Linked DNA regions of Homo sapiens: all the other regions are linked to region 1. The links are contacts of gene promoters, found by promoter capture Hi-C in blood cells and fetal thymus (Javierre and others, 2016). All regions are on one chromosome and are shown on one strand. The core of a region is centred on a gene start or on the middle of the fragment in contact, and the rest is flanking DNA. Distances in the headings are between cores, read along the strand shown. Region 1 holds the start of PAQR3 (progestin and adipoQ receptor family member 3). Region 2 overlaps CFAP299 (cilia and flagella associated protein 299). Region 3 has its middle 6.2 kb from the start of CFAP299. Region 4 overlaps FGF5 (fibroblast growth factor 5). Region 5 holds the start of LOC124900725 (a long non-coding RNA gene). Region 6 has its middle 12 kb from the start of PRDM8. Region 7 has its middle 26 kb from the start of PRDM8-AS1.

Region 1 (3,354 bases), core at 225-2,724:
AGTTCCTGCCCCATACTCTGAGGCCAAGAATTTGAATGAACTGGCCTTGCTAGCTAGGATCCCCCCTCAGTTTATTATCATTAGATGATGCCCCCTTTCAATCATGTTTCTCCACAACTATCCACTCCTTTCATCAGACTTAGCATAAAAAGCCCATTTTTTCCTGGGTCTTTGTGTCTTCATTTCTGAAGACTCCTCTGTCACATAAAACTGTGTTAAATGAATTTATTATCCCTTTTCTTGTTAATTTTTATTATTTATTTTTTGAGACAAAGTCTCGCTTTGTCACCCAGACTGGAGTGCAGTGGCACAAACATGGCTCACTGCAGCCTCGACCTCCCAGGCTCAAGCAACCCTCTCACTTCAGCCCAGAATAGTTTGGGACTACAGGCGCCCATCACCACACCCGACTAATTTTTGTTTTTTGTTTGTTTGGTTGGTTTTTTTTGTAGCGACAGCGTCTCACTATGTTACCCAGGCTGGTCTCCAACTCCTGGGCATAAGCAATCCGCCTGCCTCGGCCTTCCAAAATGTTGGGATTACAGGCATGAGCCACCTGCGCCTGGCTTCTCTTAATTTTTTTCATAGGAATGTCAGCTGTGAACCTTGTGATAAGTGAGGACAAGATATTTTTCTTGCCCTTACAATGCCAAACAATGGACTAAGCGTTCTATTATACACATACGGTACTCAAACTGATGTTTTGCCCTGTTGCCATTATAAGTAAACACTTGCATTACAGTAAATAGCCAGAAACAAAGCTGCAACACTTCCTGTAAACGCTACTATAGCCGCACTCCACAGGATTTTTTAATATGTTCTATATTATTCAGTTAAGTAGATATTCTCATTTCCATTGTGATTTCTTCATCAGCCCTTGAAATATTTGGTGTATTGCTCCTATTCCAGACGTGGAGACTTTTAGTTTTCTTGTTACTCTAGTTTAATTCTACTGTGATCAGAGAACATAACGCTGAAAGGGGTCGGAGTTTTGAATGCACGGGGGCTTTCCTTTATGGCTCAGGATGTGCTCGATGCTGGTGTATGTTCCACGTGCATCAGGTTTCCTCTCTTTCCAATTATCGTGCTAAGAGCTGACTTCAGCTTAGAAATCCTCAAAGTCCCTTCTGACACTAAGTGTGTGTAATTCCAAGCATAAACTAAACGGTAATTACCTCGAACTTTTCTTCCTGTTAACTCTTTTCCTCTTGATTTTTCAAAATGCAGCAACTATTACTTCTAATAAAAAAACAGAAAAAGAAAAAAAATCCACTTGTATTCGCCTGTAGCTCTGTGCTTTCGGCTCTTCTCATATGCAAACGAAGACCCCAGGCGCCGCCAAAACACAGCGTGAGAGACGCCCGGGAGCCCGGGCCGCCGCCAGCGCACGCTCGAGCACACCCGGGCGCGCCCCAGCACCCTGCCCCTCCCAGCTAGGGCTGAGGGGCGGGGCCGCCGCGGCGCGCTGACGTCAGAGGAGGCTGCGACGCTGCCGGGTCCGCCGCGGCGCTGGCGGCAGTGGCCGGTGTGAGCGCAGAGCCGGGCCCTGGGCAGCAGCGGCAGCGCGGTAGGACCTCGCGCAGCGTCCGCGGGCTCCGGGGCGGGGGCGCCAGCGGCGAAGCCCCCTCCCCGGGGAGGCGGGACCTGGGGGAGCTCCCGAGCCGGGGAGCGGCGGCGGCCGGGAACGATGCATCAGAAGCTGCTGAAGAGCGCGCATTACATCGAGCTGGGCAGCTACCAGTACTGGCCGGTCCTGGTGCCCCGTGGCATCCGCCTGTACACCTACGAGCAGATCCCCGGGTCCCTCAAGGACAACCCGTACATCACCGACGGCTACCGGGCCTACCTGCCGTCCAGGCTGTGTATCAAAAGGTACGGTCTGGCTGCCTCCGCCTGGAGTGCCCCCTTCTCTCACCTACACCCTTTTTGTCTGGTCCCCCTTCTGCTTTCCCCGCCTTTCTGCTTGCCCATCATTTCCTCGCCGCCCCATCCTTTTCATCCCTTTTTGCCGCCTCTCCTCCCCCGTTATCTCCCCTTACCTGGCCGGGGTACTTGGTCCACGGAATAATCATGATAGTAACAGTGATCATAATTACAGCTCTCCTATGACGCTTTGCTCTTTACAAAGGGCTTTTACATCCTTTATTCGGTTTGTTCGGCTCATTGAGATATATATTGAAATGGGGCTGAGCCATATTTGCCCGGTGTATACCTTTCTTTTTAGAGCAACACTGTGGGAATTCAGTAGCTTTGGGCCAGATAAGTGCCTGTATAATAGGAAACAAGTTAACATATACACCCGAGATTTATTCATTTGGCAAATACTTATGGAGCCCATGCAGAAAAAAAAGCAAACATGGCCCTTGTTTTCATGAAGCTACTAAGGTGTAGCCTGGGTAACAGACATTAAATAGATAATTACACAATTACATAATAACCATTGTGGAAAAAATGCTGTGTAGGAAAAGTACTGTGGTAAAGAGAGCTCATAACGGGCACCCAGTCTCCACTAGAGCACCACAGAAGCATCTCTAAGAAAGAAATTTCTTTATCATTTTAAACCTTTAAAACCACAGTCCCTTGAAAATCCGTGTTTTAAAAAAACAAAACTGAAAAATAACTATTCTAGTTCTTGGAGTAACTGTCCAAACTTACTACCTGTACTAAAATACAGGACCTCTGCTTCAGGAGAATTAAGATACAGGTGTTGGTTAGCTCCAGGTCGCTGTAGTGGCAAACCCTAGTGCCAGAATGTGGGCTGTTGAATTGCTCAAGCGGCAACCACATGTCTGATTCTTGATTTTTCCAGCATTGTCTTTTCCTGCCCTTCTTTCCTTTTGTCCTGCCATGAAAGTGTTTCTGTGACTCATGGTCACAAGGTGACATCACTGCCCATCCCTACTTGGCTTGAATGGATGGCCCTTAGGATTCACAACTTGAAGCGTAATTACCGTTTTCCTCCCCAGTGCCTCCTGTGCATGAGTAAATTACACAGCTGAGTTCTGCTGTGGATCTGGAGTTCCACAAGAATAGGGCAAGCAGTGAATTGCCTTAAATATTTTCTACTCAACTAGCAGTGGTCTTCTGCGTTCTGATGTTAGGGTCCAAATCTCATGGAGTGGAAAATTAAGTATAGAGCATTAGCTCTTGAGCTATTGAGTCAAAGACTTTAGTATCCAAATCTGCCACTTAACAGCTCTGAGACCTGGAGCAAAATGTAACCTCACTGAGCCTCATTATACCCACATATAAAAATGAGGGTAATCACAGTATCTGCTTCCAGAGGTAAAAAAAGATTCAGTAAGATTCTGTGTGTGAAATGCTATACATGGCCTGGAACCTAATAAGCCGTCA
Region 2 (3,354 bases), core at 429-2,928, 1.4 Mb before region 1:
GAATTTGAGGGGTATATTCCTATAGTTGATTTCTAGTTTTAATTGTTATGATCACAGAATATACTTTTGTATGATTTCAGTATTTTAAATGTATTGAGACTTGTTTTATGACCCTGCATATGGTCCTTCTTCATAAATGTCCCATGTGCATTTGAAAAGAATAGGTATTCTATTATTGTGTGAACTGCTCTTTTATTTATTTATTTTTTTGAGACAGAGTCTCACTCTGTCGCCCAAGCTGGAGTGCACTGGCACAATCTTGGCTCACTGCAACCTCCGCCTCTTGGGTTCAAGGGATTCTCCTGCCTCAGTCTCCCAAGTAGCTGGGATTACAGGTGTGCACCACTGTCCCCGCATAATTTCTGTATTTTAGTAGAGACGGGGTTTCACCATGTGGGCCAGGCTGGTCTCGAACTCCTGATATCAAGTAATTCACCCACATCAGCCTCCCAAAGTGCTGGGATTACAGGTGTGAGTCACTGCACCTGGCCTTTGACTGCTCTTTAAATCTTTTACATACTTACATTTATTCTAACTTCTGGTTCTATCAATTACTGAAAACAGAATGTTTATGTCTCTAGAAACAATTGTGAATTTGTCTACTCTTTCAATTCTTATCAATTTTGCATAACGCATTTTGAGGATCTGGCATGAGGCATGTAAGCTAATGTATTGATTGACTCATTTATCTATATTAAAAAGTCCTTCTTTTTCCCTGAAATACTTCTAGTTCTGAGGTCTACTTTGCCTGATATTAATATAGACATTATAAATCTCCTTTTCTTTATGCTTGTATAATACATATTTCCCATCCTTTTAATCTATTTAAAATTATCTATTAATGTTAATATAAAATTAACATTATATTAACATTATTTATAAATCATAATTATTAATAAATCATTAATTATAAAACAATTTAATGTATTAACATTAATAGATTGTTAATTTAATGTTATTAATATATTACTATAACTATAACATTAATATTAATCTTAATGTTTTATTATTAATCTGTTAATGTTAATACATTTACATTAAATTGTTGTATTTATATTTAAGGTGGGACAGCATATATGGCTCTTGAACTTTTATCTATTCTGACCATCTCTGCTTTTAAATTGAAATGTTTAGATCATTTACATTTAATGTAATTTTCAGTATGGTTGGGTTTTAATATACTACCTTGTTATTTCTTTCTTATTAGTCCCATTTGCTTTGATATTTGATTATTTTTGCTTTCTATTTTTTGTTTCTTATTTCCATTTTATCTCCACTATTACATTTTTAGTTATATGTCTACTTTATTTTTCAGCAGGTACTCTGTGATTTACAAGAATTATTAGCTTATTACATTCTACTTTCAAATAATATTACACCATCTCAAGTATAAGAACCCATTGCAACATTATCCTCTGCTATCTTTTGTGCTATTGTTGTTTCATACTGTATTTCTGTGCATGTTATAAACCACAAAATGCAATGTCATTATTTTTCTTTAAATAATCAATAATCTTTAAATATAAAACTGAGAAAAAATTTGTATTCACATATTTAGCATTTCTGGTGCTTTTCATTCATTTTCATTTTGATCCAAGTTTCCTGCTTATATATAATTTTCCTTCAACCTGAAGAACTTCATTAAACATTTCTAGTAATATATATCTGCTAACAACAAATTATCCTGGCTGGAAAATAAATTATCTCACCTTACTCTTTTCTTCTGATACAGTGTTCTAGGTTGACTTTTTTCAAATCTTTCAGCACTTTAAAGATGCCGTTCATTTTTCTATGGCTTGCATTGTTTCTTTTTTTTTATTTACTTATTTTTTACTTTAAGTTCTGGGATACATGTGCAGAAAGTGCAGCTTTGTTACATAGGTATACATGTGCCATGGTGGTTTGCTGCACCTATCAATCCATCATCTAGGTTTTCAGCCCCGCAAGCATTAGCCATTTGTCCTAATGCTCTCCCTCCCCTTTCCCTCCACCCCCAACAGGCCCGGGTGTGTAATATTCCCCTCTGTGTGTCCGTGCGTTCTCATTGTTCAGCTCCCACTTATTAGTGAGAACATGTGGTGTTTGGTTTTCTGTTCCTGTGTTAGTTTGCCGAGGATGACAGCTTCCAGCTTCATCCATGTCCCTGCAAAGGACATGAACTCATTGTTTTGTATGGCTGCATAGTATTCCATGGTGTATATGTGCTACGTTTTCTTTATCCAGTATATCATTGGTGGCATTTGGGTTTGTTCCAAGTCTTTGCTATTGTAAATAGTACTGCAATAAACATATATGTGCATGTGTCTTTATAGTAGAATGATTTATAATCCTTTGGGTATATACCCAGTAATGGGATTGCTGGGTAATATTCAGTCATTCCTGTTTTTGGTTTACTTTATAATGTGTTCTTTTACTTTTGTTTTTAAGATTTTCTCTTTATCACTAGTTTTCAGTGATTTTATTAAAACATTCCTTCGTGTAGTTTTCTTTGCATTTATTCTGCTTGGAATTCATTGAACTTCTTGGCTCTGTGGGTTTGTACTTTTCATAAAATTTGGAAAATGTTTAGCTATTACCGTTTAAAATATATTTTATTCCTTCCTTCCCTTTGTTCATTTTGGACTCCATTTAAATGTATGTTAGACTGTTTGACATTGCCCCACAGGTTACTGAGGCTGTGTTCATTTTTGTTTATGTCTTTTGTTATTATCTTATTCATTGCTGGTGAACAGAGTTGTTTTCACTCAATTTTCAACTTCCTTTCTAAACTCACTTATTTGTTAAAATAGGATTTCAGCATTTTTTCTTGTATGTTCATTGTAGATAATCATATTGCCTATATGTAATTATATTCTGACTCTTTTCAAATATTTATGACACTTTCCTTAAATTGCAGCACTGCACTGCTAGACTGCCAATAAAACATTACTAGTAGTAGCAACCATTTTTATCATGTTTCTAATTCTAATGCTAACCATTCAAGTGTTTAAACACTGAGTATGACGTTTCCTATAAGTGTTTGAAAATACTCCTTATCAAGTTATAGTAAGAATGGCTTTAGAATTTTATCTATGCTTTTTCTTCATCTATAGAAATAATCTTTTTTTCTTTTTACATTTAATATCATGAGTTCCTCGTTGCAGTCCTATAACAAATCATACTATTTTCACTCTGACATTATTATTTCTTAATATATTCTTGGATTCATTTTAAATTTCTTTCATCCAGTTCATAAGTAAAATTAGTCTTCAGCTTTCTACTTTGTTTTGCTTTTTAAAAATTGATGTCAGGGCTATGCATGTCCTGTAACATTTGAGAAACTCTCATCCTTTATTTGTGCTAATTTTTATTTAT
Region 3 (3,354 bases), core at 408-2,907, 1.4 Mb before region 1:
CCACACCAGACTTTTTTCAGTTTTGAAAGGAGCCTCCACTTCTTTTGCTGCTGGGTCTCAAACATGCTGTTCCCTCTGCCTAGGACATTCTTTCACAGTACACACTTTTTCCATTTACCTATTAGCTCCCTATTATAGATCTCGGTATAGAGATCAAGATATAGTAGTCTCCTGTGTTCCCAGAGCACTTTCTAATGCACTTATCATTTGTTGCAATATCTTGATTATTATAAAGTATTTGACAAATGTCTATACTGCTTATTAGAATCTATGAACATAAAGGCAAAGACTATGTCAACCCTCTTCACCACTATATCCTCAGCATCTAACGTAGTACCTGGAACATAATGATCCCTCAAAAGTATTTGCTGAATAAAATGCTTTTTCTATATATTTCAGTGATTCATTTTGGAAACAAGGTGAAAGGCATTACAATCCGTATGAGGACTATCAAGAAAAACAACCTAAATTTTAGCACCTACATTTTAGAAAGGCACTTAGCAATACCAATGTAATAACAGCACAAGTCAGAATTCTTTTTGATAAAGAGATATTTTGAAGCACTATGCAAATTCAGATGAGTGAAAAATTACTTCCAACTGGAAGTTGTCATGAAAATGTGATGACATGGCCTTTGTGCTGAATATGAAGTACTGAGATGGGGAGCTGGGACTCTGAATAAATGTCCATGTGACTGAGTCTCATGTGCTAAAGTTTCAAGGTGAGAAAACGAGAGGTATGTTCAGGGAAGGGTGATAAGAGAAATTTATTTAAAGTGCAGGACATATGCAAGAGGGCAGAAAAATGGAAGGGCAAGTTAAAAGTAGACCACGCTGTGGTCTGTCTATTTAAGAAGCTTTAATCATACTCTCCAAGCAAAAGAAAGCCAAAAGAAGTGTTTGCAAAGACGTGATCATCAGAACTATAGTTTTAAAGATTATTCTGACAGCAGTAAATGACTGGAGGGGAGGTAGGAAGACATCTTAGGTCAGGAGACAGAAGAAAAGGGGAGGTTGAAATTAGGAGTAGCTGCAGGGGAGATGTACTTAAGAAAGCTTTGGGGAAAGAATTTTATAGCCAGAGACTGATTTCAAGTTTATTGCACACTTTTTACCCTGAAGCAAAAGTCAGAAGATTTTCATTTTAGATCAAACTTTTACCTGCTCAAAATAAGAAATACAATGGCATGGTTGGTTTTTAATGAAACCTTCCTGGTACATAATAAACTCAAATAATGAGGCACTGACTTGAGGGTAAAAAAGAAATTCAGATAAAACCTTAGAAGAAAATAAAAGGAGACATCGTTAAAACCCCAGAGATGAGGTGGAAATAGGCTGCCTCTCTGAGAAATATATTTAGCTCTTCTAAATTACATGATAATCTCTATAGAATTCCTAAGAGCTTGATCTATTTTAAACTAACATCTTCTTTCTAGCTTCTGAGTACAATATCAAAGCTCGTCAGGTACTCAAGATTTCTGCAGCCATGGTAATAATACAACTCCAGTCACAACTAAGCAGATATAGAAAGGGAAAAAAAATCACTAGACTTTCTAAGAGAAGCATTAAAGGAAGTGGTGCCAATTCCATTAAGAGCTAATTCAACTCATGCTCAGCTCTACTTCTCTAGGATATCAAATATTCTTTGGCTACAGATTCATTAATCACAATAAAAATGTTTTGATCCATCTTTCCTACTCAATCTCACTTATTGAAACAAAAGTAAAACTTATTTACCTCAGTAATCAGTAATGTAAATTACCTCAGTAAGGTAAAGTCACCAAAGAGTCAGGAACTGTGCTAGGCTTTGAGAGTGCAACCAAAAAATAACACCTGATTCTTTAAATCTTCAAGGATATTATCATTTAGGGAAGACAGAAGGAGGACCTGAACTGGTAGTTGGCTGAATGAAGGAAAGGAAGAAGATGAACTAAGTAAATTGGAGATATAAATGTGTAAATAAGTGAGAAAAATAAAAATTTACAGGAGCAATGATAACATATATATATATATATATATATGTATACAGTGTACTGCTGGGGTATCCAATCTTTTGGCTTCCCTGGGCCACATTGGAAGAAGAATTATCTTGGGCCACACATAAAATACACTAACACTAACAATGGCTGATGAGCTAAAGAAAAATCGCAAAAAAAGAAATCTTATATTGTTTTAAGAAAGCCTATGAATGTATATTGGACTGCATTTAAAGCCGTCCTGGGCTGCACATGGCACACGGGCTGCGGGTTTGACAAGCTTGGTGTACAGAGTGGAAAATATATGAGAAAAAAGTTGATTCTATACCATAGAATGCAAGAATGATGTGTTTTAAGAAATCAATAGGAAATAATTTTTTATTCTGGAAAACAATGAGTTAGGACTGGATGGGCTCTGAGGGCACATCTAGCTTCAAAATTCTGTGATAATATTCTAACTTAAACTTTCAATAACTGTTCAGATTTAGCCTACAGGAAATCACTCAGAAGAGAGGAAAACAGTGGAATTTTGTCATATCGTGCAGTTTTCTGGAACAAAGCACAGGATTTTACTAAACTAATTCATGACCACGAGTCTCAACATACTTGGCAATACCAACATACTGTCTTAGTGGTTTGTTTTCTTTTTTTTAAGTCTATTTTACACCTTTTTTCCTATTCAAAATTGTCATCTTCCTTCTCTCTTACTCCTCATTCCCTTCAGCATCACTCCACCCCCACCCCTACCTACCCACACAATACAACCCTATCTACACTTGTTCTTAGGTATTAATCTTGTCCTTTGTTATGATGAATATAATATTCCTATCATATGCAACCTATGTCCTCCAATTCTCTGGATATCATCCTCTCTCACCTTCTCAAGGATTTCATCCTGCTGTTAGTCACATTCTCCCTAGCTTTGTCCATTTCTCCCACTCTGGGTCACCCCAACGGCATACAAGCACATTCTAGAATCTCATGTCTTTAAAACAAGTGAGCTCCTTTGACCCCATGTTTTGTTTCAATTATTGTCATTTTTACTTTCACCTTATTAAAAAAACTTATTGAAAGAGTAATCTATATTTATCATCACCCCTTCCTCATTTCCCTGTTCTCTTCTAAGCTTTCTCCAACCAAAATTTTCGGCCACCACTTGACTAAGATTGTTTTTTTTCTAGGTCGCCAATTACTTTCTTGTTTTCAAATCATAGGGATGTGGCTCTACTTGTAATGTACTTGACCTTTCAGTGGCATGAAGCACAGCTTGCTGGTCATTCATAAAATACCTTCTTCTCTTAGCTTCCATAATACCACACTCATACTGCACTCATACTACCTGTTCTTATTAGTGTAACTTTTTAATTCCACCACCTTGG
Region 4 (3,354 bases), core at 287-2,786, 1.3 Mb before region 1:
TCTTAAGGTGTTCCCATTTAAGAGGGTCAAAAGAAGAGGAGAATGCTTAACAGAAGGAATTATTCTCTTTGTGGAATTTCAGCATTGACACCTAGGCTGAAGAAGGCAAGAATGTCTTGGTGTCTCTCAGCTTATACACACAGTCTATTCCACTTATGCATTATGATGTAAGCTTACTTCCGTAAAAAAAAACATATTTCTAGATTTTTGACTTAGTCCTCTGCAGATTTCTTAATATAATAGGGCTCTACTGATAGTGGTTGATACAACTATACACATTTTTCCTTTTTCTCTCTTTTGTTAATGAATAAAATATAGAAAAGCACAGATATTCCATGTATTCAGAAGCTTTCAACAACGCATCTGAAAATCCCCAGACAAAAATATTTTAAAACTGAAGTTTCTCTACTTGCATCCACAAAGTAACAGATATGCTGTGCCAAGTTATGAAATCTGAATCTTGAAATATTCAGTTTAGCAGTCTTCACTGATTAAATTAGCAACAGAAATTTTCCACTTGATTTTTCTGCATAGTAGATATAGATTCTGATTTATCTAGGCTTGGGGGACTGTCTAATGACTCCACATGACCCCAAAATTGGTAGTGAATTTAGATTTTTTTAAAAAGCAGTAACATCGACGATTCTATTAACCAAAATATGTGCTTGGAATTTTCATATTTTATGTAAACGCTTTGACAAAGCCTTAAACTTTTCTTCCCTAAACTGACAACTACTTGATTGCCTATTCTTCAATGGCCCAAGGTAAGTCAACAGAAGCACTGTATTGACATTAAACTTGAAGGCGTATAAATTAAACCAAACCATTTGTTTCCATGCAATAGTTGGGTCATCTATCTTGCCTTGTTCATATTTCTTCATTTTTCCACAGTATTTCCTCATAATAAGGATTTATATACAATGAGCTTGATTTCATTTTCTGTGTTCAAAACTTGGGATAATTATTGTGTAAGAGAAGCTAAGAGTATATTAATTGGTCCATGTAAACTAAACAAATTATGTTTGAAAGTCCATGGCCATGGTGCACTTCTCATGGTGAAACCAGAAAACATTTGCAATTTGCAAAAAAAAAAAAAAAGTTTACTGTCAAATAATAGTTTGCGAAACACATATGATTATCTGTTCTATCAGACAAATACTACAGAATATTATTAGGTTTAAAATAACTTGTTAGAATGCAGTTTCATGGCAAAGCTTTGACTTTTCTGAAGTATCAGGGTTGTAACAAAAAGAATAGGTTTTCTATCATCACTAACTCACATACAGTAGAAATAGAAGATGAGATCAAACTGAGGTATCCTCTGTGGCCCTTGATCCAGCCCTCTCAGCCTCTCTTAGGAGATTTAAACACATTTCCTCACATACTCTAAGAAAGGCCATGGCCAACACCTTAGTTTACACGAATGTCAGGAAACATCAACTACTGCCTTCAAAGAGGTAAATGACCAATTGTAATTAGCAAGTTTCTGTTTCTCTTTTACAGCTAGGTAATGGCAGAGATCCATGTTAAATTCCCAAATTACATGCAAATTCTGCATTGATCAAAGGTAGTAAAAATTTTATGAAGTAGTATTAGACACTCCAGATATCACAAAGCAGAAAATTACTATGATTTGAATATTTGCTATGCTTTCTTCTGGGGAAAAAAAAAAAAACTCTATGGAAGACAAACAACACAAAAGTAACCAAAATATCATGCTTAGTGAGATAGGTATCTTATATTGGGTACATGATTTATGGCATGAATGAAAGCAAGTCATGTGAAAGACACAGAAACTAAACTCTGAAAGGTTATTGTAAACAAGAATAAATTAGGAAAAAGTTTAAATTAAGCTTTTTGTCGGCACTGTTTTAGGAAACATCCCTGTTCTCTTGTAGATATCTTTCAACATGGATTTTAAAAGAAAATGTACATGTTACATACTGGGTAGTGGTCAATGTCTTGTTTATCTGGGTGCACTCTTTTTGATCTGCTCTTATTTTCCCCCCTTTGCTTTTCTACAACACCCCCTCTAGCAAGGCCTAAGCTGTAAAACTACCTTCGTCTCATATAGTGTCTTCGTAGAGAAGATGGTGAATATCCTGGGAATGAGCCTTGCTTTCTGAGATCTCTAGCACACCTAAACCCTCCCCAGAAGCATTCTCTGAGCTCCCTGGGCTCCAACCTGCTGCTTGCTGCCTGCTAGTTTGGGGTCCGCCCTTGAGCTCACGGAAGTTATCCTCTGTTGGTGCTCTGTCATGTACCCAGGGAGAGTGGAAACATAGCCAGGAGACAGCAGCGCGCACAGTCACCTGTCTTTCAGTGTCAGCCTGGTTGCTCCTAGATGTTCCTAACTTGCTCCATCTCAGACCAATGACTCCACGGGTCGTTACAAGAAGAACAGAAGAAAGAAAGTTTTCTTGTAAGAGAGAAGGAAAGGTTGCCGGAAGTGGGAATAAGCTGTGATGGCTGATGGAGTCAAAAGACCGTTGAGACAAAATGAGAAGGACGAATGGAAATAAATAGATGTTACTGATTATTCCTCAAATCTCAGAAAATTCCATTTCACCCCAACAGATCTTGCCCTTTATCCCCCAAATGAGCAGTTATTCGATGAGTGAAATAAACTCTAAAATATGGAAATAGATTCCTCTCGGGAGTGTGAGGGAGGCCCTGGGACTCGCTGGTGCGTGTGCGGAGGGCCCTCTCTCCAGCTGGGCGCTCCAGGCGCCCTCACCACGTGCGCCGCAGGCTGCTGAATCAGCGCGATCAGATAGACTAGACAGGCGCAGAGGGGCGGGCATAGACCTGCTTTTCTCTCAGCATGAACCATCAGGTCTTCCGCATTAGGCCCCCTTAACCCACCGGAGGAGGCTAGCCAGCCTACCGCCTTACCCACTTGCGCGCCTCCGACCCCCCTCTGGAGACTGCTGGCTGCCAAATCTTCAGACCGCCGGTGGTGTCCACGCTCCTCTGGAGCCTGTGTAAGAAGGAGCCCAATGGCCCGTGGAGTCTTTGGTCTGAGATGGAGCAAGTTAGGAACATCTAGGAGCAACCAGGCTGACACTGAAACCAGGTGACTGTGAGCGCTGCTGTCTCCTGGCTACATTTCCGGTCTCCCTGGGTACCTGACAGGCCCTGGCTGGGGCTCTGCCTGGTGGACCAACCCGCGCTGGAAGAGCGATCTGGCCCTACTGAGCAAAAGCCCCACAGAGATCTCCCCACTCCTACTCACAGCCCCAAACCGTCCCTGCCCCCAGCTGCCTAGAGGCAGTGAAGAGAAACCAGAGGAGTGGCTGCGATGGTCTGGAAACATAGATGGGGTGGAAGGGAAGAGGAGATGAGAAAGGAAAA
Region 5 (3,354 bases), core at 592-3,091, 1.3 Mb before region 1:
AGAGGCAAAACATTTACTACTGTTACTTTTATAAGGAGACAATCACCCACCCAACATGAAAGTGTATTAGATTTATTCTGGGTTAAAAACTTATGCAGAAATAACTTGTATTTGTAGGACATATTTCAGAAAGAATAATACAAAACAGACAAGCAATAGTTTTGTTGTAATGTACAATGTTAATAAATACTTTTGAAAAGATTGGAAAGTGTGATAGACTGCTTCATACAGTTCATATGACTGGTGAATAATAATGCTAAAGAGAAATTAAGTAAAATTAAAACACGGCAATATAAAATAAAAGGTCAGTAAGCAGTGGAAACTAGCAGTAGAAAGTTAGTGTCAGATGTGAAGGAAGAGTTTCTGGATAAAAGCTTCTTGAAAGAATAAGGGAAGAAGAGAAGAAGTAACACAAAGCAGAACGGGTTTGTCTCACTGCATAGGCAAGCCAAGTATTGGCCTGATTCTTTGATTTCAAGAACCTTTGAAGTAGGGTCAAGTTCATGAGCATGCTGTCTGTGCAGTGTCACGGGTCCTAGGCTCAGAAAGACCTCATGTTAGGTTTAAAGCTCTTCCATTGCCGTCTTGAAATTTTAAATAAATTTATTTATAACTTATGTTTTGGAAATGAAATCTAATGGTACAATGGAGCCGAGGAGTGTGCACAGGAGATATCTCAATATGAGTATCCACCACTATTCCTTGCTGCCACATTTATATATAGCATTTGTGATGCCCCATGAGCACAGAATTCCAGTGGACTCACAATGCGTAGTAAGTAGTTCAGTGAGAAAGGTAGTATGAGGTCAGTTTGTTAAATCTAAGATTGACTAACGGTAGGGTGGGGATGTAGGGGGGACTTGCTGAGGTCCCTGGGATGCCACCCTTTCAGTTTCAACTAGAACTTGTTTGGAATGCAGAAAGAAGGCAATGGTGTTGGGCTGCTTTTTTCGTATTAGCCAACCAGTTATGTTGAAAATAAGATCAGAAGAAAAGGGAAAGATAGGACAGGCCCCAATTCCTTTTGCTTTCCTTCCTTACTTATCAGTAAGCCAAAAGTAGAATGTATTGGTAGAATGTGTATCCTTCAAGAAAGGAAAGAAAAAACATGTTAGCTTTGTGCAGATTTCTACTGTTCTGGTAACAACAGAATACATACAAAATACAAAATAGAATTGTATAATTTTGGTGATTCTGCATACAGGTTAAATGCTCTTATATTTACATCTAAAACTGGCATTGCACAATATGAAGATATGCTGTAAAATTTCTAATGATCTTAAATTTAAAAAATTTTCTACTTAGAACAAAATTAAATGCTAATGAAAAACAGTATAAGTTGAAAGAGAAGCAGAAATAGAAGAAAAACCCTTATATTTGGATATCTTTAATGGTACTTTTTTCCTTTTTTTTTTTTTGAAAAGGAGATCTCACACTTTTATTTTGCACTGGGCCCTGAAAATTACGTAGCCAGAGCAGTCTGAGGAGTCTGCACCATTTCTCAGCTGTAACCCGAAATACCCTTTCACTTACAGGGACCTCAAATTCTGTTAAGAAAACACAAAGCTTATCATTCAACAATTACCAAGAAGCTCAAAATGCTAAAAGAGATGTAATACAAATAGCAGTGGACTTAATATTTAAAAGAGTGATTAAGTTCTAGCACTGTCACCATGTGTATTTGGGAAAGTTATTTACATTTCCTAGCCCTTCACTGCCTCCACTGTAAAATGGGCTAAATTATCTACCTGTAAGTCCCCTGCAAGCTCAATGGAATCTGAAACTAAATCTGTATTAAGCACATAAAAATGGCTAGATTTTAGAACTCTTTACAGATTTTGAGATTATTAGAGAAAAAGACTCTTGATATCTGAAAGGGAAAAGAATTGGGGCTGGAGGAGATGAATTGTTTCACTTTTTCACAGGACCAGTTCTACAATTAAAATCCTCAAGTAAAAGTTTAAGGAAGAAGTAAATGGAGGATAGAAAGCACTACTGTGTATTAAACACCTGCTGAGTACTGGACACTGTTCATGTTATTCTTCTAATTTCTCACAACCAGCTCATAAAGTATACGTAATAATTGTCATTTTGAGAACAAGAAAAATGAAGCTTACGGATTAAATAAATTTCCTGAAGTCACATTGTTAGTAAAGTGGCAGGATTTTGAATCTCAGTTCAGGTTCCAGCAAAGATTATATTCTTTCCACTACAATAGAGAAAAAAATGTTTTTTAGAGAGACTGAATGAAAATATAGAAATAAAAAGTTCAAAAGTTAAGTGCACAAGTAACATGGAGAAGGAAACTCATATGCTCATTCTGTTTTAGCTTTCTTAGGTGATAAATTAGGAGTCACAAAACTACAGGATATTAACCGCATTATTGATGATATAATTATATAATTTTAAATGTTTTGAATAACAATTGAAATGAAAATATATAAAAATCAAAGTCAAAAGAAAATGTAAAACTTGTATATACTTTTTGGTATTTTACGATACTCATTTTGAGTGCATATTCATGTTACCTCAGAAATGTTTTAAAACTTAGGGTTAATTAGAATAATAGCTATAGTCATTTTGATTTCATTGAATGATATTAAAACAGCCTGATCGTGTTGTTACTTTTTTTAAAATTGAAGTAACTATCTCATCCTGCAATGTTTTCATTTATATTTCTAAAATCTGTTCTTTGTAAACCAGCCCAAACCAATTATGTTAATTTCCTAAGAACACTGGTCAATTGGGTTTCCCTCTAGCCTTTCAATCCTATAATCAATGCAAAATATAACTGGAAAAGTTAAAACATCTATAATTTTTAAAAACATCGATAATTTCTTCATTTATGGTCCAGTGGGAAAATAAGGCAGAGGGAACTGCTTGCCTAAATTCTCAAACGGAGTCAGGAACAAACTTCTAAGTCTGGTGCTTCTTGTGTTACACTGATAATTATTTCTGCTTGCTCATTCACTTCCCAGCTATATATCCTGTGACCCAATCCTGTCTGGTTGACATTCAGAATATTCAGGTGAGCCAAATTAGCCATGATCGAGTGATGTCGCACATACTTATCCTTTGACTTATCCATTCCTTGTGTCCTCAGCAACACAGCTGTGAACACTGGCAACACAATAGTTATTTATGGCTAAGTTACGCAGTCTTAGTTTGCTGCTATAATACTTCATGAAAATTAACTTTTTTAGAACTTTGAAATAAAAAAATATTTTAGGCTTCCTTATTTGTAATATACAGCAATGTTACTTAACCAAACTAACTCACTGTGTTGTTCTGAGGTTTGAAGGAGATAATACGTGAGGAAGGCATTTGTAAACTCTAAAAGAAGCATTTTAACAT
Region 6 (3,354 bases), core at 283-2,782, 1.3 Mb before region 1:
AGCAAATACCTTCATGTAAATTCAGACTTTTTTTTTTTTTTTTTTTTGCTGTTTATTCACACAGGTGGCAATTTTGGATACTACCTCTTTGTTGGAGGGGATAGAACTCAGGGAAATCTAAGAGAGCCTAAAGGTAAGAGACGATTGAAAATGGGAGGTTCTGAGATGGAATTTAGGGAGCAGATCGAATGTCCCTGAAAATAAGCTTCATGGCATTCACCATTTATCCACCTAGCCCTGCTAAAGCAAATAGTTAAACTAGCACTGTCTACAAAAGCATTTTAATGAAAAAGTCAATTTACTCCTTCCTGAAGGCTAACTCTTATCTTTCTAGGAAGGACCTTGCAGGAATATTTCCTTTATTTTCTTTCCTCCTCCTTCGCTTAGCCCTGACGCTGGACCTCTTAGCCTAAAGAAGAACTGAACACTATGGATACTAAAATTTTTCTAATTACATGATTTGCATCCATTTGGGGGCTGGGTGTCACTGTTTGGCTCTGTTTGTCTTTCTCAAAGACCCAGTGAAATTTTGCCAGAGTGTAAAACAGGACTTTATTCATTTGTTTGAGAGAGAAAAAAGTCATCAATTGCTTAAAAAAAAAAAAAGTTTCACACTTCACAAAAAAATAACAAAACACAGAAAAAGTGGCACAGGCAATAGTATAACACCAACACACCCACCCAGAGATGAATCCTCAGAGAAAAGTGCAATCATGGTATGCCTGTCCAGATTTTAATCCTCGAAGCAGGTGTGCACAAGAGATCTTAGTCAACGGTGGGACTGATTTATGGATTTCTACTCTGAAACCCACAGTAAGGCTCTTCTCCAAAGAAAATGCCAAAAAAAAAAAAAAAACAGTATGAGAGGAATTTGGAATTGGTGGCTGGACATTTGTGGGAAAAGAAGTAAAGGGACAAAAAGTTAGATAAATTAATCCCATGATTATTTTTCTTCCCAATTTCTCTCTTCCTTCTTTCCATCCTTCCTTCCTTTTCTTTACTCCGTCCCTCTTCTCTTCTCCTTCCTTCCTTCCTTCCTCCCTCCCTCCCTCCCTCCCTTCCTTCCTTGTTTATTTTTTACTTAAAGAATTTATTCTCTAAATAATTTGGGAAAACAAGATATTGTATGCATTCTTCAAGTCTCTATGTTTTAGCAGCATTAGAGTTCTTTATGATTTTTTAAGTCATGCATTATTTTTAAAGATCCATTTAAAAACAGGAAAAAGCTTGAGCTGGAGTGAGGGATCCGTTTTGATCTGTAGAGGGAACATTGTCTTCATTAAGCACTGAGCACAGTGTAGCTTTCTAAGTAAGGTGCAATTTGTTACATAGTAACTAGGAAAAGGGATAAGCTTCTCTCCTGCATTGTAACCATACTTTCTACAGCATGGCAAATTATATCTAGAACTCCTCTTATAGCCTTTTCCATCCTTAGCATTAGGCTGACTTACAATTTTTAAGCACTAGGAACACGCTGTATTTATAATTTAAGATTATTACAGCTAAGCCAACTAAAATATATATATATAGTTATATACACATAACTGTGTATATATATATATATATATATATAGTTTTATGTGGGGTGCATGTGTGTGTGGAGTGTGTGTGTGTGTGTGTGTGTGTGTATATATATATATCATGAATGAACCTATAGGCTTACATGATATTATGTATCAAACATTTTTTCAGTGACTCTCCTGTAAGCTTGAGGCACAGAGTAAAATCCTGAGTAATTACATAAACAACCACAAAATCAAACCAGCGATTACTCCCACCTCTGGTTAAAAATGAGAAAAGATCATTAAAGTAAGTCAAGGTCACAAAAGATTTCTTATAGAGGTATGAGAGCATTTTGACTACCTGAGAAAGATAAGTTGAGGCTAAAAGCATATCTCTTTTACCAACATGGGAGTCAATCATATTCAATAGTACAAAAAGCTGCTACATGTAGAATTATATTTGCTTTTCAAGACACCGCTATGTGATAAGCCCACAGGTGGTATTATTCACATGTTCAAGTAAAGGAAACTAAGATAAATAAATGGAAAGGCCACAAAATTTGGAACCGGTTTCCTGACATAAGAGTCACTATTTTTTCATTACATTATCACATTCTCATCTTTCTGTTTCAGAGTGACAACCGTACTAACTACACAATGCTGAAACATGATGGAGTGGGATTCTCAGTAGCCCTTGGGTAGGCTGTGAGAATTAAAGCAAGTAAACACATGAAAAGCACTTAGAATAACGCCTGCCAGTTATGTGCCTGTGTGTGGATTAAAATGTTTATGTATGTCTGTATATATAAATATGTGTATCAGTTTGTAATATATACTTACATATTTGAACACATATGCACATGCCTGCACATATGCATAGATTTATATTCTAATGCTCACACACAACTTGAAAAGAGATAAGCAAATAATAATGAGCATAACCAGGTTAGCTATTCAAACAGAACACCTGTACCAGACCTCTAATCCTAAAGATTAAAATAAAAGAATTAAATTTTTTTCAGTTTCTTTATTCACTAGGCCTGGAGAATACAGGTTTCTAAAACGTTCTAAGTTCCATATCTAAAGTGGGAAAAGCAGAGGTTGCCTTAGGAATATGATTCATGAAGCAGAGGCAAAGAGCTCCGCAGCTGCTGCCCAGCCAGTTTACAAAGCTAGAAGGCAATCATTCAGGCCCACCAGCCTGAGGCATATGTTACTGCCTCAACGTTCTGGGCCTTCTGTCAAATAAAATGCATTTGGAGGAGGAAAAGGGAGTGAGAAGGCCCACCTTCTCACCCCAATCCCAGTTTAGCTCTTGGGCAGGCTAAATTTTCTACACCCCTTTGAGGTCATATTTCACCTTCAGGAAAAAAATGAAATTTCCAAGCTGGGAGAAACTGTTCAGGAGGCAGCTGGGGGTGTGTGTGTGTGTGTGTGTGTGTTGCGGGGGACAGTGTATGTGTGGTCTGGTGTGTGTGGTTGTGTGTGTATGTGTGTAGTGTGTGGTGTATGTACTGTGTGTGTGCTGTGTGTGTGGTATGTGTGTTGCATATGTGTGGTGTGTATGTGTGGTGTGCATGTGTGGTGTGTTGTGTCTGTACGTGTGATGTGATGTGTGGTGTGTGTGGTGCGTGTGTGGTGTGCGTATGTGGTGTGTGTGTATGTGTGTGGCATGGTGTGTATGTGTGGTGGTGTGGTGTGTGTGGTATGTGTATATGTGTGGTGTGGTGTGGTGTGGTGTGTGTAGTATGTGTGGTGTGTATATGTGGTGAGTGTGGGGTGTGTGGTGTGGGGTGTATGGTATGGTGTGGTATGTGTGGTGTGTGCATGTGGTGTGTGTGTGGTGTGGGTA
Region 7 (3,354 bases), core at 306-2,805, 1.2 Mb before region 1:
CCGGTTGTCATGGCTCATGCCTGCAATCTCAGTGCTTTAGGAGACTGAGCTGGGAGGATAACTTGCGACCAAGAGCTCAGGATCAGGTTGGGCAACATAGCAATATTCTGTCTCTGCAATAAATAAATAAATCAAATTATCTGATTGTGGTGGCACGTTCCTGTAGTCCCAGCTACTGAGGAAGCTGAGGTGGGAGAATTGCATGAGCCTGGGAGTTCAAGGCCACAGTAAGTTAAAATTGTGCCACTGCAATCCAGCCTGAGCAACAAAGGAAGACTTTAACTCTAAAAAAAAATTATAGCCAATATCAGAGTCTTGAATATTCACTGTAAACATCAGCACAAACAAAAGCCCGATTTCTAAATCTCATAGAAACTAAGAGTTTGAAAACTTGAGAGGACTGATATAAAGTTGGAAGTCAGTGTTTCAAAGGAGAGAGACAGAGTTAGCTATAGGAAAACAGAAAATTAGGAGTGGAAAGCAAAGAAGAGTCTTGTAAGTAACATATATAGCTGAACAATAAATACAAGTGAAATAGATTGACTTCTAGAATGGCAGTGTGGGAAACTCTGCTGAGCCACTCCTCAGTGAAACTGGTGAAAATTGTGTGTAAAGAAACAACCACTTAAATTCTCTGGAAATGGTCCTAAGGGCAAATGGTAAATAAAGAAATACCTATTAGAGGAAATTATGAATATCTGTCAAGAGAGGTGAGTCTGTGACATTTGAACTGAAACTACTACTTTCCTTGCCCCTCCCAGCTCAGTGAGGCAGAGACTCTACTCCAGACGCTGCAGCCAAGAATATGACTCTTTATATTCCTTAGGTGTCAGCTGCAGGGCTTTCATTGCAATAGGACATAACTTGAGCTTTTTTGGTCCTGCCCGTAGCTGTCTGTTGCTAAGGCTAAGTCTTAGGTGAATACAACTGGGAGGAGGAAGCTTCCTTCTCCCACCCAACACTTTCTTGTAAAAAGGAAGTTCTACCTTGGGTGTGGTGCATTGAGAATGAAACTACCTTTGCAAAAATTATGACAGTGAGAGAAATGTAACCTAGCTGACACTGCCATACTTCTAACTTAACAAGCTAACTGTGTTTGCTCATTCCTGGGTGTAGGCGAAGCTAATTGTGGAAGGAATTTAGCTTATAGTTTAACTTTAAATAAAGGATAATAGTCTCCCCCAAAAACTGACCCCCTCTGGGGACTGAAACCACCTTTGTAGGACTAATGAAAGGCCAAAAGCTTAGGATTATGAGTGGGGAATGAATTCTGGTAAGATGTAGATGTAGTTAAATGATAACCAGCCACAGTTCCGAAGATGACAAGATTTGTAAGTTCTTTAATTGCTCTTATAGATACCAACGGTATTGTCAAAACCCAATATTGGTCTTTGAGGTATTTTTCAGACTTTTGCACTTTGGCTGACCAGTTGATGCCACCTGGATCTGTGACTCATACCAGGGAACTGACTTAACCAATCCTGTGACCCCCTACCCTGAAACTGACTCAGCACATGAAGAACATTTTGGATACACCTATGATTTCATCCTGAACCAATCAGCAGGACCTAGTCCCTAACCCCCTGCCTGCCAAATTATCCTTAGCCTCCGAGCTTTCAATACTTAAACTCTTTCTTTGCTGCAGTATCTGCTATTTTCAGGGAATTGGCTTTTCTGGGCAGTGGGTAAGATGAACCAATTGGGCTGTTAACAGGAATACTGGAGCCTTGGGAGCCTTTTCCTTGGCCTTTGAAGTAAAGTTTCCACACCATGAGTGGCAAGCTGAAAGACCTGCAAACTCCTCTCTCACCCCATCCACCAAGCATTCAGCAATTAGAGCCAGGGTATTACTCAGAGAGAAGCTTGTCATTGTTTCCACCCCCAACTCCGTGCTCTAGCTCAGAAATTTTGCCTAGGGAGAGAATCAGGCCATAAAGCATGCAACTCTTTATCTCTTCCCAAGGGATCTTACTTTATTCCAAACAAAGTGTAGATAATTTTAAACTTAAGGGCACTCTCAAGAACAGTAGAAGTTGTGGTGAAAAGCAATTGAGAGGAAATTTTGGGACCAAATGAAGATATAGCCTAGACTGTAGGCCAGCTAGTTTGTAAGAGAGAACTGGGAAATAAGATAGCTGACAGGAGCTCTCTTGGAGTTAATACAAATAGCAAACACTGATCTCAGAAACTTTCCCATATAAAGTGTCACAATATTATTAGATTTATTTGTATATCTTTTTTTTTTTTTTTTTTTTGAGACAGAGTCTCACTGTGTCTCCCAGGCTGGAGTGCAATGGCACAATCTCAGCTCACTGCAACCTCTGCCTCATGGGTTCAAGCGATTCTCCTGCCTCAGCCTCCTGAGTAGCTGGGATTACAGGCACCTGCCACCATGCCCAGCTAATTTTTGTATTTTTAGTAGAGACGGGGTTTCACCGTGTTGGCCAGGCTCGTCCCAAACTCCTGACCTCAGATGATCCTCCCGCCTTGGCCTCCCAAAGTGCTGGGATTACAGGCATGAGCCACCATGCCCGGCCAATTGGATTTATTTGTAAAGAAAAAATTATGTTCCAGGGCACTGTTGGAAACAATTAAGCAATAGGCCAGAAATTAGTAGAGTTTAACAGCTAGGTGTAATCAGCGAAAGGGTGGGAGAGAATCTTACCAGTACCACTACTATCCCAGGATAATTGTTAGATATACCCAGAACTGTGCCTCACTGATCAGAGAGCATCAGAGGCTTACCATGATGTGTATGTTGAAAAGTGAGGGAATGGAAGCCAGGGAATAGACTTCAACTAAAATAACTCAGCACTCACTAAACAAATAAACAAGAAAATAATAATCGCAATCCTAGAGGGGGGCGGGGTACCAGTTTCCAGAGTTACTAAGATATATTATCTAAAATGTCCAGTTTCTAACAACAAATTATGAGCATGCAAAAGAATGGAAAAGTATAAATTGTATACTGGATGAAATACATGCAACAGAAACTTCTTATCAGGGTAAATTAAACAATTAAATCAAAAAGCAGAGATTATCAGACTTGATTTAAAAACATGCTTTAACTATATGTTGTCTTCAGGATAAACTTTATATTCAAAGACATAAATAGATTGAAAATAAAAGGATTTAAAAATATCAAAGACCAGGTGCAGTGGCTCATGCCTGTAATTCCAGCACTTTGGAGGCTGAGGTGGGCAGATCACTTGAGGCCAGGAATTTGACACCAGCTTGACCAACTTGGTGAAATCCCATCTGTACTAAAAGTACAAAAATTAGCCAGGCATCGTGGCACACACCTGCAGTCTCAGCTATTTAGGGAGCTGGGGCATGAGAATCACTTGAACCTGG

What was found. Contacts are between HindIII fragments. The CHiCAGO score rates a contact against its expected background, and 5 or more counts as called.
Region 2: a contact is called between a fragment that was not itself captured here and the fragment with the promoter of PAQR3 in region 1, in 2 of 17 cell types (M2 macrophages and fetal thymus). The highest score is 5.6, in M2 macrophages.
Region 3: a fragment that was not itself captured here is called in contact with the fragment with the promoter of PAQR3 in region 1 in 2 of 17 cell types (fetal thymus and M0 macrophages); the score reaches 6.5 in fetal thymus.
Region 4: a contact is called between a fragment that was not itself captured here and the fragment with the promoter of PAQR3 in region 1, in 1 of 17 cell types (monocytes). The highest score is 6.0, in monocytes.
Region 5: a contact is called between a fragment that was not itself captured here and the fragment with the promoter of PAQR3 in region 1, in 13 of 17 cell types (M0 macrophages, M2 macrophages, total CD8 T cells and 10 more). The highest score is 9.1, in M0 macrophages.
Region 6: a contact is called between a fragment that was not itself captured here and the fragment with the promoter of PAQR3 in region 1, in 16 of 17 cell types (fetal thymus, total CD4 T cells, total CD8 T cells and 13 more). The highest score is 16.5, in fetal thymus.
Region 7: a fragment that was not itself captured here is called in contact with the fragment with the promoter of PAQR3 in region 1 in 7 of 17 cell types (naive CD8 T cells, M2 macrophages, fetal thymus and 4 more); the score reaches 9.8 in naive CD8 T cells.

The regions. Positions count from the first base shown.
Region 1 is chr4:78,937,558-78,940,911 of GRCh38, reverse strand. PAQR3 (progestin and adipoQ receptor family member 3) reads left to right here and starts at 1,474. Exons shown (of 6, transcript NM_001040202.2): 1 at 1,474-1,872. The coding sequence starts at 1,688. RefSeq lists silencers at 1,295-1,784, 1,875-1,944. The HindIII fragment of the contact is 16,646 bases long and covers 1-3,354 here.
Region 2 is chr4:80,349,423-80,352,776 of GRCh38, reverse strand. All of the region lies in intron 1 of CFAP299 (cilia and flagella associated protein 299), which reads right to left. Among named protein-coding and RNA genes, the nearest start is that of CFAP299, 15 kb to the right of the region's middle. The HindIII fragment of the contact is 3,813 bases long and covers 1-3,354 here.
Region 3 is chr4:80,327,875-80,331,228 of GRCh38, reverse strand. It overlaps a transcript of CFAP299 not described here. Among named protein-coding and RNA genes, the nearest start is that of CFAP299, 6.2 kb to the left of the region's middle. The HindIII fragment of the contact is 1,200 bases long and covers 1,058-2,257 here.
Region 4 is chr4:80,268,110-80,271,463 of GRCh38, reverse strand. All of the region lies in intron 1 of FGF5 (fibroblast growth factor 5), which reads right to left. Among named protein-coding and RNA genes, the nearest start is that of FGF5, 3.1 kb to the right of the region's middle. RefSeq lists an enhancer at 2,261-2,831. The HindIII fragment of the contact is 639 bases long and covers 1,217-1,855 here.
Region 5 is chr4:80,231,050-80,234,403 of GRCh38, reverse strand. LOC124900725 (a long non-coding RNA gene) reads right to left here and starts at 2,197. Exons shown (of 2, transcript XR_007058161.1): 1 at 2,118-2,197. The HindIII fragment of the contact is 546 bases long and covers 1,569-2,114 here.
Region 6 is chr4:80,208,131-80,211,484 of GRCh38, reverse strand. No RefSeq gene overlaps it. Among named protein-coding and RNA genes, the nearest start is that of PRDM8, 12 kb to the right of the region's middle. The HindIII fragment of the contact is 355 bases long and covers 1,355-1,709 here.
Region 7 is chr4:80,169,946-80,173,299 of GRCh38, reverse strand. No RefSeq gene overlaps it. Among named protein-coding and RNA genes, the nearest start is that of PRDM8-AS1, 26 kb to the left of the region's middle. The HindIII fragment of the contact is 619 bases long and covers 1,246-1,864 here.